Linked DNA regions of Homo sapiens: region 1 is linked to region 2. Evidence: promoter capture Hi-C in 16 types of primary human blood cells and fetal thymus (Javierre and others, 2016). All regions are on one chromosome and are shown on one strand. Each heading gives the region's core, a stretch centred on a gene start or on the middle of the fragment in contact. The rest is flanking DNA. Distances are from core to core; before and after follow the strand shown.

Region 1 (3,316 bases), core at 354-2,853, 1.5 Mb after region 2:
CCTCATAACAACGGGGTTATGCCGTGTGGGGATGGCGGCGCAGACAGCCTTCCATAGGTGGTAAACTATAACTGTGTCATTTGTGACTGACAGAACAAAAGGGCTTTGTTGCCACTTTAATTGTTGATTAATGATGATCCCTCTCAAATTTGACACGGTTGCTTTCTAGAACACAAAAGAAGTCAATGTCAGATGTTTCCTTGATCATGACAGTCATGATTTTCAGGCAGTCTTGGTTCTCTGACATTTCAGGATGCCATAGAAGATTTCAAGAAACATAATTGAATAATTTTATTAATTGAATAAAAAACTGTACTGCATATTACTTTTCATACTGTTTGTGCAGGATGTCACCAGCTACCTGAGATTTATATGCACCAAGTCATGTTTTATTTGGGAAAAAGTTCATATCTTGTAGATATTTAGTGCTATTATCTTCGATTTTTTAATTTTTTTCCTCCTCTTTCCTACCCCCCTAATCCTTCCCTGGAATTAAAAAAAAAAAAGATTCACCTTTCTCTCTGATGCCTGTTTTCCACTTTAGTATTCCAAGGGAGTGAAGTGTCTGCGAGCAAGAATGGTGTCTTCCTGATGTGGTGGTGATGTTTGGATTTGCAAGGCTTGCCTTGTCCTTGGGCTGGCTTCTTCATGGATAGAGCTGATGAATATATTTTTAAGTAGTTATGTCAGCGTTCCTAAGGGTGACTCACAGTTCTGAAGTAAGTTAACGTGTTGCCTAAATGAGTTACTCCTCATTGGAAGGGCTAAGTGGAAGGAAATGCAGATTACAGATTGTATTGCTACTATTTAATCTTTAAGGGAGTAGGGGAGTGGATTTTTGGAATTGTGATATCTTTCTAAAATATATATGAATGAATTTTTCACCTTCCCCTCCACCTTCTAAAGTGCTAGGTGGTAGTACTAGCACTTTAAAAGTCAGTATATTTTGCTGTTTTACTGGCAGTTAGAAAGTTGGCGCTAGAAATCTTTAGCAATACTGACAGTTTGGAGATTTAGATTTTACTTCTCCAAAATAATCAGGACTTTTCATCTACTCTTACGAAATGATAGATCCAAAAGATTTATTACAGAAATTACTACATTCAGGTACCACTTGTTTTTTTAAGAGGAGGTCAAAGATCACAGAAGCTTGGAGCTAGAGAGAGCCTTAGCTTCCCTTTTTAAAATAGTCCTTAAAAAAACCACCTAAGAAAAAAAGACCCAGCTTGCCCTAGGTGACAAGTTAGGTGAACTAAACTCAGGTTTTGTGACACCACTACTCTTTTGCTTGTACCACTGACCAAGCAAAACATCATAATGTTTCATCTTGAGGGGAATTCAACTAACAAAAGATTTCTTTACGCAAATTCCGGCTATGGCAAATGTTTATTCTAAATAGCTTCCTATGTAACTTAATTAAGACAAGTGCTGCAAATATTTAATATCCTGCGGTTTTTTGCATAAACAAAGTGTTCCATCAGTTTATGTGTAAAGCAAGAAATGAGGCTGTGGACCACTAGGGCTCCATCTCCAGAAGTACCATAAAGCAGGCATTCTGCGTAGGATAACTCTGCTTACAGAGCCAGCTGACCTCCCGTTTTGTCATTGTGTGATGCCCTCCCATTCTGGTAAATCAAACCCTGACCGTTTAAAACTGTGGGAACTGGGTGGACCTTGCGCTTAGAAGGATATGGTCTATGCTAGTGCCTCTCATTACAGAGTTTGCTATGAATTGGTCTCTGCTAGCCTCTGGGTTCACTTGAGGATGTGTTTATTTTCTCTTTACTGTTCAGGATGTTTACAACCATTCTGTGTGGTTTGCTCGCAACCGCACTTGCATTTGAATTTGGTGGGCAGCTTGCCCTGGGTAGAGGGTATCCCTTGCCCGACCCCCCACAACCTCCAGTGCGCACACACACGGGCACACTCTTGTTTCTTTGAGTGGCTGCCAGGTTTGTAGTGTGTGTGTCTGGGGGGCGAATGGAGTGGGTAATTATTTTGGGGATGGAAACACAGGAAATTTTTTTTTTTTTTGAATAGGCCTTTCAGCAAGTTGGCAAAGCTTCAGGGCCAGCTCCCACACCGGCACAAAGAGCGCAGCCATGCCGGTCATTTTGCATTTGCCAGACACGAACTGTCTGATTTTTTTTTTTTTTTTTTTTTTGAATGAACAGACCCTCCCTCCCACCCTTTCCTTGCCCTTTGTTTAGAATTGGGATGTAATCTAAATAATTGGATTTACCAGCTTACGTTTTTAATATTGGAAAATTGAGTTAATAAAATGATGTTTTGGCATGTACTTCCCTCAGCAAGGGAACAGCTGTGCATTCACTTTAAGCCGCCTGGTCCCCCTTGCTCCTGCTTGATCCAGCTGATTTGTGTGTCACGCCATGCCCTTCTTGGGTTTGCAGGCTATCAGAAATCCTGGACAGAAATAGGATTTAATTAACCTGGAAATTGCTGTTGTGCCGCAGTCAGGGCTACCCTAGAGATTGAGTGCACAGATAGCAATAAGCTGGTTAACTCTACACTGTTGATGACCCCAGAGGAAACCTGGAGAAACAGTGCCACCCTTGTGTGAAGCTTCTAATGGCAGGATGCCCAGGAAGCTTCTAAATCAATCATTTGGGGAGGAAGGGGCACAGGGAGGGTATTACAAAAGAAAAAAGTATTTGGCATAGGACTGTTAGTTCATCCCTGGGGTTTCTTTACAAGCATGGTCTCGTGATTTATTGGTTAACTTTCCAAATAATGTTAGTGTGTATCTTGCTGTGCTCCTTCGTTCTCATAAAGGTGCTATATATTTTATTTTAACAACAAACAATGAAGATTGATTTTGGTAAATTTTTAAGCGGTGATACCTAACAGCAAGTGAGAGGTGGCTGTGGGAGGCTTAGCAGAAAAAGAAAGTCACCTTCCATGTAGCTTAGGGAGTGGATGGATGGGGAAAGGACAATAGGGATCTTTCCCCCTTCGAGCTCATGCAGCTTGATCAGGAAGTACAAATACTCTCTGATGTATGTGGTGGTCTTGTTGCATGAGGTGTGTCAGGAGCCGCCTCTTGGGCCCAGCGACTGTGGCCTGGGAACAGTTGTGCTGTGTGAGGCCATGTGGAATACAATGAAATGCCAAGGGTTAGAAAAGCGCCTTGTGCCACAGGGTGACTGTCAGCCGGAGGCAGACCTTATTTGGCTTCTGCGAGATGATGGTGAGAATGGGCAAGTGGCATGGTAAATTCTTAAGGGAGGGCCATGTAGGCTGGTGCCTAGTTGGTATTTTTTTGTTTTCGTTTTCAAATATCAGCCTCTATATTCAA
Region 2 (3,035 bases), core at 37-2,536:
AGTGGCCAGTCTCTCCGAGGAACAAACTGTTTTCCTTTTCCACCATGAAATAGATCTTATCTTTTCATTAGTTAATATAGGTGTACCTTCAAATGGCAATAACATTGTTCTGCTTTGTGGCTTCTCAAGTAGTAAACCCAGAAAACATCAGCTACCGTGGATTTTATTATAAATCATTGACATTCCTTTGGTGATTCACAAATGCCAAAAAATAAATGTCATGTTCCCCAGGGTTTGAAGAAAGACACTGTAGCTTTTGGATTCAGCAACGGATCTTTCAAGAAAACAGTATGGAGGGATGACTCACTCCCCCCATGGAGGCTGCCCTCTAGTTCGTCCTTTAGAGGAAGCATGACCAAGGGTCTGCTGGTACTTTTCTCTCCCTCTCTAAGAATTTCCTCAGGAGAGGAAAAAGTTAGCTTTCTTTTCTCTGCTCCTGAGTGCCATGGCCTGCAGTACGTGACCAGTCCTTGGCACAGAGTCACTCAGGGCTCATGGTAGATGCTTAGCGGTCACAGCCAGTAGCTGCGCAGTGTGGCAGCAGCTGAGATCCATACTGCAGCCTGAAAGTTGTGTTTCAGCTTCTGAGGTTACAAGTGTATCCAGTGTTTACATCAGAGATAAAGCCCCCTTTCCCCTCTCTCCTACGGGAGCCCTCAACAAGACAGATACACGGGTTGGGTGGAGTGAGACCACATCCAGCAGAGGCAAAGCTTGCTAAAAGAGAGAGGAGGAGGAGGGGGAGAGGGAGGAGGCGGCACGGCGTCCCTTGGCAGCTCCGTGCATGCTGCGGCAGTTGCAACAGGAGAACCGAGTACCAGTTGCTCAACACTTTATCACTTTGCATTGCTCTTTCTCCTCCCTTAAGTGAATTTCCATTTTGAGGGTACAGCTCCACAGGAGAAAGGTGTGGTGGTGGTAGTGGTGGAGGGTGTCTGTGGGGGGGATGGTGGTGCGACGGGAGTTGGAATGTCCAGTGTGGGGAAGCAAAGGAGTGCCTACTAGGATGCGAATACCACTTGGCCCTGGGCTCGCTCCGCTTTAGCCTTCCCCTCTCGCTGGGGAGAAACAGGCGGTTTGTGAGGGAGACTGAGAGAGGGGCGTGTTTGTGGTGGTGGCGGCCCATCGGGGGTCCTTGTCCTCTCCGAATACCCGGACTGCTGAGGGGAAGGGCCGGGGGGGCCCCGGCGGTTGCCATGGTGACGCAGGGTCGGCGGCTCAGCGCCGTAGAGACAAAGCCGCCCGCCCGCCAGCCCGCTAGCTCCTCGCGCGAGCTCCTCCTCCACGGGAACCTCCCTCCCCTCCCAGGCGCCGCCGCAGCCGGAGCGGCTCCCGGGCCCTGGGCCGCCGCCGGCCAGGTAAGGCGATCGCGCCCGCGGCCGGGGAGGGGTCGGCGGGACGCCGGGCCTCCCCAACGCTGGGGCAGCAGCCAGCCCCGCAGTCCTGGACGGCGCCGGGCCGCCCAAGCGCGCCGAGGAGAGGGGGCGGCAAACTTCGGGCCGAGCGGCGCCGGGGCCCGCGCGCGGAGTCTCCCTCCGGGCACCACGGGGGCCGCCGTCCTGGCACCAACTTGAGGGGCTGTGCGGCGGAGGGCGGCTGCGGAGCGCCCGCGCGGGCTGCACCTGCTCAGGGAGCTGCCCCTCTGTTGTTGTTGTTATTTTCCTTCTTGGCGTGCCATCGAGGCTTTTGGGGGAAAAAAAGGTATGAAAGTATTTACCTTTGGACTTTCATGTTTCATGGCATTCTCTTTGAGGAGGGGTTGGGAGGGTAGTAAGAGGGACAAGCGAAAGATTTTTACGAATCTCTGAAAAGTGAGCCCATTTTTATGCCTGTGGCTGAAGCATTTTGAGGAGGCTTCTGAAGTTCGTTTGGATATTGAATCGAAAGACCTTTTTTTCTTTGGAAGGTGCAGTTGCACCTATAACTGGATGGTAAGGGTAGCCCGGCTTTCCCCGACTAGCAAGACCAGAATGTAGAGCAGTACCGATACTTTGTCAAGGAGATACTTGGCACCGAGGTCATTGCTTTTGTTTCTAGAAGGTATTGTGTTCATGCTGTAAGGAACTGGAAAGTGCCTTTTGTTTTTATGTGTAGGGAGGCAATCCAAAGCACCTCTGGAGGCAGGTAGCTGGGCGGTGTTTGCATCGGTGTTTATGAGTGGGATGATGAGGACCACGATGCGGTTGCCACTGGGGCACTGGATAGGTTATAGGTACCTTTCTCAGTGGCCCCAACCCTTGCAATCATTTCGTGATAGTTTGTTGCAGACGCGAAGCACAGATTTAAATTGTGACTGTGAAGACTTTTTTTTTTGGTACTTAGACATCATCTTACATGTAGTAATATGAAAGAAAACAGATACATTTTCAGAAATACAGTTGATCAATTCAGAAGGAAATTGTATATATGTTAATAAGATTTGTTTTAAATCATATTTAAACAATATGAGATGTCATATTGATAACTGGAAAATAATCTAACATATAAAATTGTATATCCAACTTAGTAAAATAATGTATAAGTTGGAATAGGTCATTTAAAGAACTATATGGAATGCAAGAAATTATATTTTTGCTAGAGAGTAATTAATGAAAACAGTACCACTGATCATTTTGAATTGCAGTTAAGTTGATTGGAATTCTGCATATTACAGCTACTTGAGGTGTCAGGCAAAGAGTGATTATTTAATATTCCTCTTCCCTCTTTTGGGATTTCAACACCTGTTAGCCTGCTGATTACTAGGTTTCTCAGTCTGTTCATATTTGCCAGCAACTTCAAGTAATGCCACTTCATTAGAAGATTGTATTGGAAACTAAAGGATTGAAGTTGCAATTAACAGTTTGCAGGTTATTTCACAATTGGGCTTGTTTTTAAACTGAATTTTACCTGTGGAAGATTCACAGATGCTCTGCTAAATACTCTTTCATGACGGTAATAAAATCGTACATTGATTAAAACGAAGTAGATCTGTTTTGAGAAGATAAACGGGAGAGAAAAGTATTTTCTCACTTAAGCATGAACAGCAAATAGGATAT

What was found. Contacts are between HindIII fragments. The CHiCAGO score rates a contact against its expected background, and 5 or more counts as called.
Region 1: a fragment that was not itself captured here is called in contact with the fragment with the promoter of RNF182 in region 2 in 1 of 17 cell types (total B cells); the score reaches 5.1 in total B cells.

Annotation. Positions count from the first base shown.
Region 1 is chr6:15,442,594-15,445,909 of GRCh38, forward strand. All of the region lies in intron 3 of JARID2 (jumonji and AT-rich interaction domain containing 2), which reads left to right. Among named protein-coding and RNA genes, the nearest start is that of DTNBP1-AS1, 100 kb to the right of the region's middle. RefSeq lists an enhancer at 1,931-2,431. The HindIII fragment of the contact is 913 bases long and covers 1,148-2,060 here.
Region 2 is chr6:13,923,666-13,926,700 of GRCh38, forward strand. RNF182 (ring finger protein 182) reads left to right here and starts at 1,287. Exons shown (of 3, transcript NM_152737.4): 1 at 1,287-1,358. RefSeq lists an enhancer at 182-682. The HindIII fragment of the contact is 2,801 bases long and covers 712-3,035 here.